Linked DNA regions of Homo sapiens: all the other regions are linked to region 1. Evidence: promoter capture Hi-C in 16 types of primary human blood cells and fetal thymus (Javierre and others, 2016). All regions are on one chromosome and are shown on one strand. The core of a region is centred on a gene start or on the middle of the fragment in contact, and the rest is flanking DNA. Distances in the headings are between cores, read along the strand shown. Region 1 holds the start of SLC15A4 (solute carrier family 15 member 4). Region 2 holds the start of RAN (RAN, member RAS oncogene family). Region 3 has its middle 43 kb from the start of LINC02414.

The links. Contacts are between HindIII fragments. The CHiCAGO score rates a contact against its expected background, and 5 or more counts as called.
Region 2: a contact is called between the fragment with the promoter of RAN here and the fragment with the promoter of SLC15A4 in region 1, in 1 of 17 cell types (erythroblasts). The highest score is 5.4, in erythroblasts.
Region 3: a fragment that was not itself captured here is called in contact with the fragment with the promoter of SLC15A4 in region 1 in 1 of 17 cell types (monocytes); the score reaches 5.0 in monocytes.

Annotation. Positions count from the first base shown.
Region 1 is chr12:128,822,603-128,825,850 of GRCh38, forward strand. It overlaps SLC15A4 (solute carrier family 15 member 4), which reads right to left and starts at 1,356. Exons shown (of 8, transcript NM_145648.4): 1 at 796-1,356. The coding sequence starts at 1,341. LOC124903083 (a long non-coding RNA gene) reads left to right here and starts at 1,342. Exons shown (of 2, transcript XR_007063602.1): 1 at 1,342-3,248. RefSeq lists an enhancer at 1,107-1,266. The HindIII fragment of the contact is 5,029 bases long and covers 1-2,502 here.
Region 2 is chr12:130,869,755-130,873,355 of GRCh38, forward strand. RAN (RAN, member RAS oncogene family) reads left to right here and starts at 2,312. Exons shown (of 7, transcript NM_006325.5): 1 at 2,312-2,372; 2 at 2,830-2,875; 3 at 3,082-3,166; 4 at 3,249-3,374. The coding sequence starts at 2,840. It also overlaps the pseudogene RNU6-1077P. RefSeq lists enhancers at 1,352-2,113, 1,537-1,616, 2,114-2,875 and silencers at 1,897-2,356, 2,427-2,566, 2,617-2,826. The HindIII fragment of the contact is 6,850 bases long and covers 1,245-3,601 here.
Region 3 is chr12:131,603,467-131,607,142 of GRCh38, forward strand. No RefSeq gene overlaps it. Among named protein-coding and RNA genes, the nearest start is that of LINC02414, 43 kb to the right of the region's middle. RefSeq lists an enhancer at 355-895. The HindIII fragment of the contact is 9,612 bases long and covers 1-3,676 here.

The sequences.
Region 1 (3,248 bases), core at 106-2,605:
AGTGGAGTGGCGCGATCTCGGCTCATCGCACCTCTGCCTCCCGGGTGCAAGCGATTCTCCTGCCTCAGCCTCCCGACTAGCTGAGAGAACAGGTGCCCGCCACCACGCTCGGCTAATTTTTGTATTTTTAGCCAGGCTGGTCAGGCTGGTCTCGAACTCCTGACCTTAGGTGATCCACCCACCTCGGCCTCCCAAAGTGTTGGGATTACAGGCGTGAGCCACTGCGCTCAGCGTATTTTTTAAATTTTATTTATTTATTTTTTTGAGGTGGGGTCTCACTCTGTTACCCAAGCTAGAGTGCACTGGTGTGACCCTAGCTCACTGCAGCCTCCGAAACTCGTAGGCTCAAGGAATCCTCCTTTCTCTGCTAGGACTACAGGTGTGCGCCTCCACGGAGGGCAAATTTTTAAATTTTGGTAGAGATGAGGTCTCACTGTGTTGCCCAACCTGGTCTCAAAGTCCTGGGCTCAAGAGATCCTCCCGCCTCGGCCTCCCAAAGTGCTGGAATTACAGGCGTGAGCCACCGCGCCCGGCCTCTCTTTTCTTTAAAGCCACTGTGGCCATCACTGTGTGTGTAGACCTCACCCCGCCCCAGGCAAACCCCTTCCAGCACCCATCACACCGGTACCTCCAGTCTTGGCCCACCTGCTGGCGGGATTCCTCGGCACTAGACAGAAGCCCCCCGGGGCAAGGGGCTCCCTCCGCGGTCAGAGGCAGGGACTGGGGCAGGGGAAGAGGCTGGGGCTGGGCAGGGGCTGGACAGGGACAGGGACAGCGCGCGGGGGCGCGGCTCACCTGGTCGGCGCCGAAGGGCGTGATGTTGGCCTTGACGGTGGCCACGCCCAGGCCCACCAGCACCAGCCCCGCGAAGGTGGCCGGTGAGCAGCAGCGGGCGGCGGCGTCGGGACCAGGCGCCGTGCAGTTGAGCAGGCGCGCGGAACCGCAGAGCGCGGCTCGCGTGGCGGGCGCGGCCAGCAGCGGGAAGGCCAGCATGCCCAGCAGGTAGAGCGCCAGGCTCAGCAGGATGGCGCGCGCCCGGCCCAGCCGCGCGTCGGCCAGCCAGCCTCCGAACGGCGAGCCCAGGTAGGTGAGGCCCATGAAGAGCAGCAGCGCCTCGCTGGCCTGCGCGCCCTCCCAGCAGAACGGCGCCCCGTTCAGGAATAGCACCAGGTTGGACGTGATGCCGTAGAAAGCGGCGCGCTCCAGCAGCTCCGTCAGCAGCACGGCCCCGCACGCCGCGCGCCGGCCCGCGAACGCCCCAGCCGCCGCCGCGGCCGCCGCCGCCCGCCGCGCGCCCAGCAGCGGCGCCCGCTCGCCCGCACCGCCCCCAGAGCCCTCCATGCGACGCCGCCAGCTGCCTCGCCCCGCCGCCGGGTCACCTGTCCCAGAACCCAGGGCCGCCGCCCTTCTCGCGAGACTGCCGGGCCTGAGATGTCCCTATTGGGCGGGCTCGCCGCTGCTCAACGCCCCACTCGCCGGAACTTCCGGCCCCGCCCCGGGCACTAGGCGAGGAGGTGGCCGGTATTCTGGATCACTGCGTGTCTTGGGGAGCTTGGGATTCCGCAGCTTGGCGGCCGAGAGCCTTTGTTTGCCTTTTTGAGACAGGGTTTCCCTCTCTCGCCCAGGCTGGAGCGCAGTCATGCGGTTACGCCTCACTGCAGCCTCAGCTTCCCAGGATCAAGCGGCCCTCCCACCTCAGCCTCCCGGGTAGCTGGGACCGCAGGCGCTCGCCGCTGCCTGTGGCTAATTTTTAAACAGTTTTTTGAAATGGGGTCTCGCTTTGTTGCTCAGGTTGGTCTCGAACTCCTGGCATCAAGCGTTCCTCACGTCTCAGCCTCCCATAGTGTTGGAATTACGTGCATGAGCCACTGCAGGCAGTCGGACTAAGGGAGTTTAAACAAAGAAGCCGGAGCCTGGCCCTCTTCGGGCTTCGGTGGGGCCCAGTAGGCAGCCAAAACTCACACTGAGACGGCGGCTGCTCTCCAGGCGGGTTTGCTCAGGCTGCCCCCGTGCTCCCTGCCCTGGGCTTCAGTCCTGGAGAGGACCCGGTTTCTCAACCCGTGCATCGTTGGCACTTTGAGCGACGGGACTGTCCTGTGCGTTGCACGATGTTCAGCAGCAGCTTTGGCCTCTGCTATCCACTAGGGGCCAGTTCCACCCCCTAGCACCTCAGGTTAACAACCGAAAATGTCTTCTAGACTTTGCCGAAGGACTCCTGGGGGCAAATACGCCCCCATTGAGACTCACTGGCTTAGAACAAGGCAAGCTCCAGCCTGTTTCAGGCTTTCCCAGAGACTGCCCCTACACCATCTATGGTTGCATGGCTGGCTTCTCATCCTTCAACCTTCCACCGAAGTGTTGACTTCAGAGAAACATTTTTTTCACTAGCCTGTCCAAGGCCCGAGTATCCCATTCCATCATGTTACTCTTTTCTCCTTATTACCTGTTACATTTTTTAATTTATTCGTTTATCTCCCCAACCTGCATGTGTTAACAGGTGTAAGCTTCCTGATGGCAGGATTCTCTTGTGTTTTGTTCCTCACTGTGCCCCCTGCCTCTGGGACAGCGCCTGGCACATAGTGGAGTGAAAGAGTGCCGCCCAAAAATGGCCCTCAGCATGGCTTCAGAAATTGAGACCCCGGCCTGGGATGGTGGCTCACGTCTACAATCCCAGCACTTTGGGAGGCCGAGGCGGACGGATCACGAGGTCAAGAGATCGATACCATCCTGGCCAACATGGTGAAACCCCGTCTCTACTAAAAATACAAAAATTAGCTGGGCGTGGTGGCAGGCGCCTGTAGTCCCAGCTACTCAGGAGGCTGAGGCAGGAGAATCGCTTGAACCAGGGAGGCAGAGGTTGCAGTGAGCCGAGATTGTGCCACTGCATTCCGGCCTGGTGACAGAGTGAGACTTCGTCTCAAAAAAAAAAAAAAAGACAAAAAAAAAAGAAATTGAGACCCCGGCCTGGGATGATGGCTCACGCCTATAATCTCAGCACTTTGGGAGGCTGAGGCAAGAGGATTGCTTGAGCCCGGGAGGTAGAGGCTGCATTCAGCAGTGAGGGCATCACTGCACTCCAGCCTGGGTGACATAGTGAGACCCTGTCTCAAAAAAAAAAAAAAAAAAAGGCAAGAAAGAAAGGAATCGTGATCCACAGCTGCTGCAATGATTCAATTAGTGTAAGACCACCTCCTCTTCCTTCATCATTCCCTCCAGCTAAGATGAGGGTGGAGCCAGTAGCTGGGAAG
Region 2 (3,601 bases), core at 1,062-3,561, 2.0 Mb after region 1:
AAAATTGTCATCCTTGCGCAGGGGCCATGCTAATCTTCTCCGTATCATTCCAATTTTGGTATACGTGCTGCCAAAGTGACCACTCGATTACCTATTCCAATATAATGAAACCCTGTTTCTACTAAAAATAAAAATAAGATAAAAATAAAAAAAATAGCTGGGTGTTGTGGCGCATGCCTGTAATCCCAGCTACTCAGGAGGCTGAGGCAGGAGAATCACTTGAACCTGGGAGGCGGAAGTTGCAATGAGCCGAGATCGCACCACTGCACTCCAGCCTGAGCGAGAGTGAGGCTGTCTCAAAAAAAAAAAAAAAAGGAAATAGAACATTGCAGGTAAAGTTAAAGTCTTCTTTGACTCCTCTTCTCAGTTCCATCACACTCCTTTCTACCCTTTCTTGAAGCAATAACCATCAGGATATGGTATATAGATCCTTGCAGTCAATTAAAAAAAACAACAAAATACATATATCCAATAGCCAATATGCTTTTGTTTTATGTGTATTTGTAAAAAATATACATAAATGACATTATACTATATATATAATCCCTCTAGATAAAGTTACATATAGTGTTAGGTTTTATGTATTAATTTTTGAAAACAGGGTCTTGCTCTGTCTCCCAGGCTGGAGTGCAATGGTGAGATCATTGCCCATTGCAGCCTGTAACTCCTGGGTTTAAGGGATCCTCCTACCTCGGACTCCCAAAGTGCTGGGATTACAGGTGGCCTAGACTTTATAAAGCTGTTATCACCTCTTTCTTCTTTTCTCAACACTATCCTTTTGACATCTATCTAACCCTGTTGAAACAGATGACCGTCATTCCTTTTAAATGTTATACAGTATTAAATGTTGTGCACATGCGTGAGGCATGAGTTTAACTCTGGGGCCTCTCCCTAGAAATGGAAATCCGGGGTCACAAGCAATGGGCATTCCCGTTTTACTGTTAGATTCTGCTCTCCCGCCAGCAGCGTCTGAGAGGTGCTTGGGGTTCCCCTGAGGGTTCTGGGGGAGCTCGGACTTGCGTTCCCAGCAGGCCGGTTGTCGCCTGCTTTGTGCCTAATTTGCGTCACTGGGGTTCCTAGCGGACTCGCCTGCAAGTGTGCTCAGGACTGCAGGGAGGACTCTTCGGTCACTGCGGCTCTCTCCCCATGGTGGACTCTTCTGAGGCGCTTGACTGCGCTGATTTGGGCCTTTATCTGTCTGCATGTCGGCAGGGGCGCCCAGGAAGTCGGGTCCCTCTAGCTCAAGCTTGTTTGGGCTCTTACAGCTTCAGGCCAACAGGGGGCTGGGAAGCTGAGCACTTACTCATTCCGTCCCCGTTGGTAACTAGGGCTGGTAGACGCGTCCAGACTGCAAACAGTATTTCATCATTTTGTCTGTAGCATGCAGCGGCCAAAGCTGCCAACCTATGAAACGCTTTGAGAAGCCGGACGCTTTGGGAGGCCGAGGCGGGTGGATCCCCTGAGGCCAGCCTGGGAGACATAGTTAGATTCTGTCTCTCAAAAAAATTTTTAAAAAATTACCCCTGATGTGGTGCGCGCCTGTAGTCCCAGCTACTCGGGAGGCTGAGGCGGGAGGATCGCCCGAGCCTGAGAGTTCGAGACCAGCCTGGGCAACGTAGCGAGACTCCGTCTCTTAAAAAAAATAAGTAGCCGTTTTTCTGGGTGGGTGCATCCCTCTCTGGTTCCTCGCTCTCCAACTGGCCCTGGTCCTGGGGGCGTGAAGGCTACGATCTGGAGAGACAGAACAGCGGGCTGCCTCTGGAGGACGGGCCTAGACCCCATTCATTCATTCATTCGTTCTGTCACCCACCCGTCCTGCGCGCACGCGAGCCACCCTAAGCCCCAGGACCTCAAGAACCCCCACCCCACGGGGCACAGACAAGGACAGGCTGGCCAGCGCCTGGAAGCCGCGTGCCTGACCACGTCTGCCCGAGCGAGTACCGCCTCCCACCCGGGAGGCAGGAGAGCCGCGACCGTCGGGCCGCGCCCAACGTCTCCCGCTCAGGGGCGCGCCGCCTCGCTTTCAGCGCATGCGCGCCCGGGAGCCCGCCCGGGGCGTCGGCGCACGCGGTCCCCACCGGCCGGCTTGCGTACGCGCTCCCGGCTCGCCCTCCCACGCGGTCCACCGCGCCTCCCGCCCCACCCTAAGCGCAGCGACCGCCCGAGCGGCCGACCGAACCGCGTTGCGTGCGTGCGCGCACGCGCGGGCCACGTGGGCGGGCGCCGCGCCGTTGCCCCGCCCCTTGCAACCCCGCCCCGCGCCGGCCCCGCCCCTGCTCTCGCGCCGGCGTCGGCTGCGTCTCCGGCGTTTGAATTGCGCTTCCGCCATCTTTCCAGCCTCAGTCGGACGGGCGCGGAGACGCTTCTGGAAGGTATCGCGACCCGGCGGGCCCGGCACGGCCGGGCGGGGACAGGGGTGGCGGCGGCGGGATAGGGGTCGGAGCCGGGGCCAGGGCCGGGGCGGGTGGCGGACCCAGGGGCAGCGGGCGGCTGAGTAGGTGGGTGGTGCGGGCCCGGCCGGGCCGGGGCAGGAGACGGGCGTGGGGTCGGCGCTAGCCCCCGCGAACCCCCGTTTCATCCTCCGCTCTCATCCCCGTCCCGGTCCCAGTCCCGTTCCCATCCCTACACCTCCGGCCGCCGTTCCCCGGGCCCCGCCGCCCCGGATGCCGGCCCCGCCCGCCGCCTTCCCGCTCCCAGGCCTGGCCGCCATGGCGCCGCGGGCGGGAGGCCTTTGTGGGGCGGGCACGTGGGGCGCTGGGGGCGCGGGAGCGGGGCCGCCATGGGCTGCGGGGCCGCGCGAGCGCTCGCCTCCGTCCTCTGCCTCCGCAGGAACGCCGCGATGGCTGCGCAGGGAGAGCCCCAGGTCCAGTTCAAAGTAGGTAACCCTGCGGGGCGGGAGGCGGCCGAGCCCGACCGCGTGCGACTCGCGGGTCCCTCCTCCTGGGGCCACGATGGCTGTAATGGGGCCCCGCATCCACATTCTTTGTTTTAAGTGAGCCTGTGGTGGTTAAAGTTCCGTGACTCTGGGATCTTGAGAGGTGAAGTGTTTAGGGTTTACTTCCAAAATGTGTTTTTCAACAGCTTGTATTGGTTGGTGATGGTGGTACTGGAAAAACGACCTTCGTGAAACGTCATTTGACTGGTGAATTTGAGAAGAAGTATGTAGGTATGTGCTGGAAAACCTTGCTTGTGGAAATATGTGAGAAATGGGTAAGTTCATCCACTCAATCGCATCGTTTCCGTTTCAGCCACCTTGGGTGTTGAGGTTCATCCCCTAGTGTTCCACACCAACAGAGGACCTATTAAGTTCAATGTATGGGACACAGCCGGCCAGGAGAAATTCGGTGGACTGAGAGATGGCTATTATATCCAAGGTAGGCATTTGTAACTTGCTGAACGGTTTTTGAGAGGTTTTGTGTACTTCAGTCTTCAAGGTTATAGAAAATCAGGTCTGTTCCAACAAATAGTGTCATTTTTGGGTTAAAAAAAGACAAGTGGACTTCGGGGAGTTGACCACCATTTTGGTGGCAGAGAAAATTTTATTAAAGTTGTGTCATTTGCATGCTGTGTCATGCTAGGCATGCTTTAGAAAAAACTATGA
Region 3 (3,676 bases), core at 507-3,006, 2.8 Mb after region 1:
TAAAACAACACATTTTCAGTCAGGTCTGAGTCCTGGCCCAGCCAACCCTGTCCTCTGTTCATGTCTCACAAGGCTGAAACCAAGGTGCTGTCTGGCCTTGTTCTCATCTGAAGGCTCAGCTGTAAGACCCATATACAAGCCTCCCAGGATGTTGGCAGAATTCACTTCCTTGCAGCTGTAGAGCTCACAGCAGCTTCCTTCTTCATACCCAGCAATGGGGAGAGACTGTGGCTGTGAATCTCCGACTCAGGGAAGGTCTAGACCTTTATTTTCCTTTTATAACAGCCATCATTGGGCCTGTTAGCTGAGACACCTACTTGTGGCCTCTTCAAGGGCCTGAATTTGCCCACAGCCTGGAGGCTCAGTTCCAGGAGTGAGTTGGACCACTTCCAAGGAGCTCATCTGATTAAACCAAGAACACACAGGATAATCTCTATTTTGATCAACTCAAAATTAACTGATTAGCAACTATAATTACATCTGAAAAATTTCTTCTTTGCCAAAAAAACCATAACCTAATCACAAGAGTGAAATTTCATCCTATTCATAAGTCCTCCCACACTCAACAGAAGGGGATTTCACAGGGCATGTATACCAGGAAGCAGAAATTTTGGGGCCATGCTTCCTAGCCTGGATTCTTTCCTCCACAGCACTCCAGGGAAGATCTGGGAGCTCAGGCTCATTAAACGCAGGGTCTCACTTTCAGTCAGGCAAACAAGCAAGTGGTTACAGCCTCTTCCTGCTGCAGGAAAGACCCTGCTCCCATGCTCCAGTTCCCCGAGCCCACCCTCCTGACGGCCAGGGAAGCCTGCAGACAGGACTAAAGCCCGGGGTCTCCAACCCACACCCCCGCCTGCCTGGAGCTCTTACACTGCTGAGCCCGTCACAAAGCCCTGTGCCCTCCCGCCGTCCCACCGTGCCTCTCCACTCAGCACTGGCCAGCTCTGCGGGGGCCCAACACAGCTCACTGTGCAACTTTTCAGAAGGAAAGAAAAACAAATCCCAGTGAGATTCAGAGAACCTCAGCTGCGTTTAAGAATTCCTACTACACCATTCACTATGACATTCTGTCTCAGCCAAATATCCTGTTGCCAGGGAAGAAAAATTAAATTTTAAACACGAGCTGCAGAGTAGGTGTCGGTGGATGGCAAGCAACGGAAACCGCAAACAGGGCTGTGCATCGCCGTCAGCCCGAACTGCAGATTAATTGCTTCTGGTGGAGGAAGCAGCTTAGATCTAAACATCAACTCAGCTCCGACAGAGCCTCGCGGAAATCCAGAGCTGCCTCTGGGATCAGAATTTTGAGGACCTCTGCTCCCTGCACTTGGGAGAGTCTTAACACAAAGAACAAAAAAATTTAAAAGTCTGAGAGAAGAAGGAATAAACCCCACCTTCAGAATTTTCTTTGATTTTTAAAAAATTGTAGTGTTTAATCCTAGTTCATCCAAAATAAAAGTGAGAGAGGGGTTTTCTCTGCATATCAAAATGTCTAGAAGGCTCAAGAGAAAACATTGCTGTCGGTGGGCACTGAGAACCATTTGCTGACCCACCGGGAACCGGGACCTGTCACTCACAGCCACCCCACCGGGAACCGGGACCTGTCACTCACAGCCCTTCTGTTACTGGAAAGGGGTCCTGATCCAGACCCCAAGAGGGTTATTGGATCTCATGCAAGAAAGAATTCAAGGTGAATCCATCAGGTGAAAGGAAGTTTATTAATAAAGTGAAGGAATAAAAGAATGGCTCCTCCACAGGCAGAGTGGTAGTGGGGCTGCTCCACGAATGATAGTTTTTTCCTGACTATATGCTAAACAAGGGTGGATTATGGTCTAGAAGCCAGGAGAAGCCCTCGGTTCTGGAAACTGCCCACCCCTTTCCCAGAAGACTCATGATTATTTATGGCATTTGTAAACCGTCATGGCGCTGATGAGCAGTAAGGATGACCCCAGAGGTCACTCATTGCCATCTTGGTTTTGGAGGGATTTGGCCGGCATCTTTACTGCAATCGGTTTCATCAGCTGGGTTTGTGACCTGTGTCTTGTGCCGACCTTCTGTCTCATCCTGTGACTTAGAATGCCTAACCTGCTGGGAATGCAGCCCAGTAGGTCTCAGCCTGATCTTACTCAGCCCCTGTTCAAGATGGAGTCATTCTGGTTCAAATGCCTCTGACACTTCCCTCACCTTTAACCCTGGAGAGGGTGATTCCCTCCTGACCCCACAGAGCCCAAGCTGAGTTCTACTTTGTTATTTTCAGAAGAGCAAACCTCAGAAACAAGAAAGCCCCTGCACCATCGACAATAATGTTTAAAAACCTCAACCCCAAGCAACTTCTTTTCATCCCCTTCTTTTCCCAGCAAGACTTTTTTAAGGTTCAAAAACAAGCGCAAAACAGCAGCAACAAAAAATCATCAAAATCCCCAGGGTTTTGGTTTTGTTTTGTTTTTCATTATTCTCCTGGAGCTTTCCCATATCTAATATTTTCCAACCTTTTCCTTAAGGACATTCCCCCAGGTTTCAGGACAGAAGCATCTCAACAGGTGTGGGAGGTCTTTTCTGCTAGAGAGTGTAATTTTGGAACTGTACTCACATTTCTTTCCAATCTGGGCCAAGGTCTAATTCAGACGCATAACTGAAAATCTGGGTCCACTAACAGTGCCTGTGATTGTCCAACGGGTTGTTCCTGCCCACTGCACAAATAAAGACCACGGCACTGCAGTCAAGAAAGAGTTTAATTGCCATGAGGCCGGCCACGCCATGTGGGAGATGGAGTTATTACTCAAATCGACCTCCCCAAAAATTCATAGATTGGGGTTTTTAAGGATAATTTGGTGGGTAGAGGGTTGGCAAGTGGGGACTGCTGACTGGTAGGGTCAGAGATGAAATCATAGAAAGTCAAAGCTGTCATCTTGCACTGAGTCAGTTCCTGGGTAGGGGCCACAAGACCAAATGAGCCAGTTTATTTTTCTGGGTGGAGTCAGCTGGTGCATCAGAATGCAAGGTCTGCAAAATATCTGAAGCCCTGATCTCAGGTTTTACGACAGTGACTCTGTACCGTAATTTCTAATCTTCTAATTCGTAAGTCAAGTCCCTAGGCAAGGAGGGGTTTTGTTTTGGGAAAGAGCTGTTATCATCTTTGTTTCAAAGTTAAACTAAGTTCCTTCCAAAGTAAGCTCAGCCTACGCCCAGGAATGAACAAGGACAGCTTGGAGGTGAGAAGCAAGATGGAGTCGGTTAGGTCAGATCTGTTTCACCGCCATAATTTCCTCAGTTCTAATTTTTGCAGAGGCGGTTTCATGCCCAGACAGAGAAACGTCTGACATCGTTGTGCAACCCTAGAATACTGTTGTGAAACTGTTCTTGTGCCCCATTTACCAACTGCACAAATTCACCAACTTTTTCAGACAATAGTCGTCTCTCAGTATCCTCGGGAGGTTGGTTCTGAGGCTCCCATGGATACCAAAATCTGAAGATGCTCAAGTCCCTTATATAAAATGGTGTGTTATTTGCATATAACCTAGGCACATCCTCCTGTATACATTAAATTGTCTCTGCATTCCTTATAATACTCAAGATAACACAAATACCGTGCCAATAGTTGTTATCACTGCTTTTTTATTTACTTTTGATTGTTGTATTGTTATTTTTATTGGGTTTTGTTTGTTTTTTGTTTTTTGAG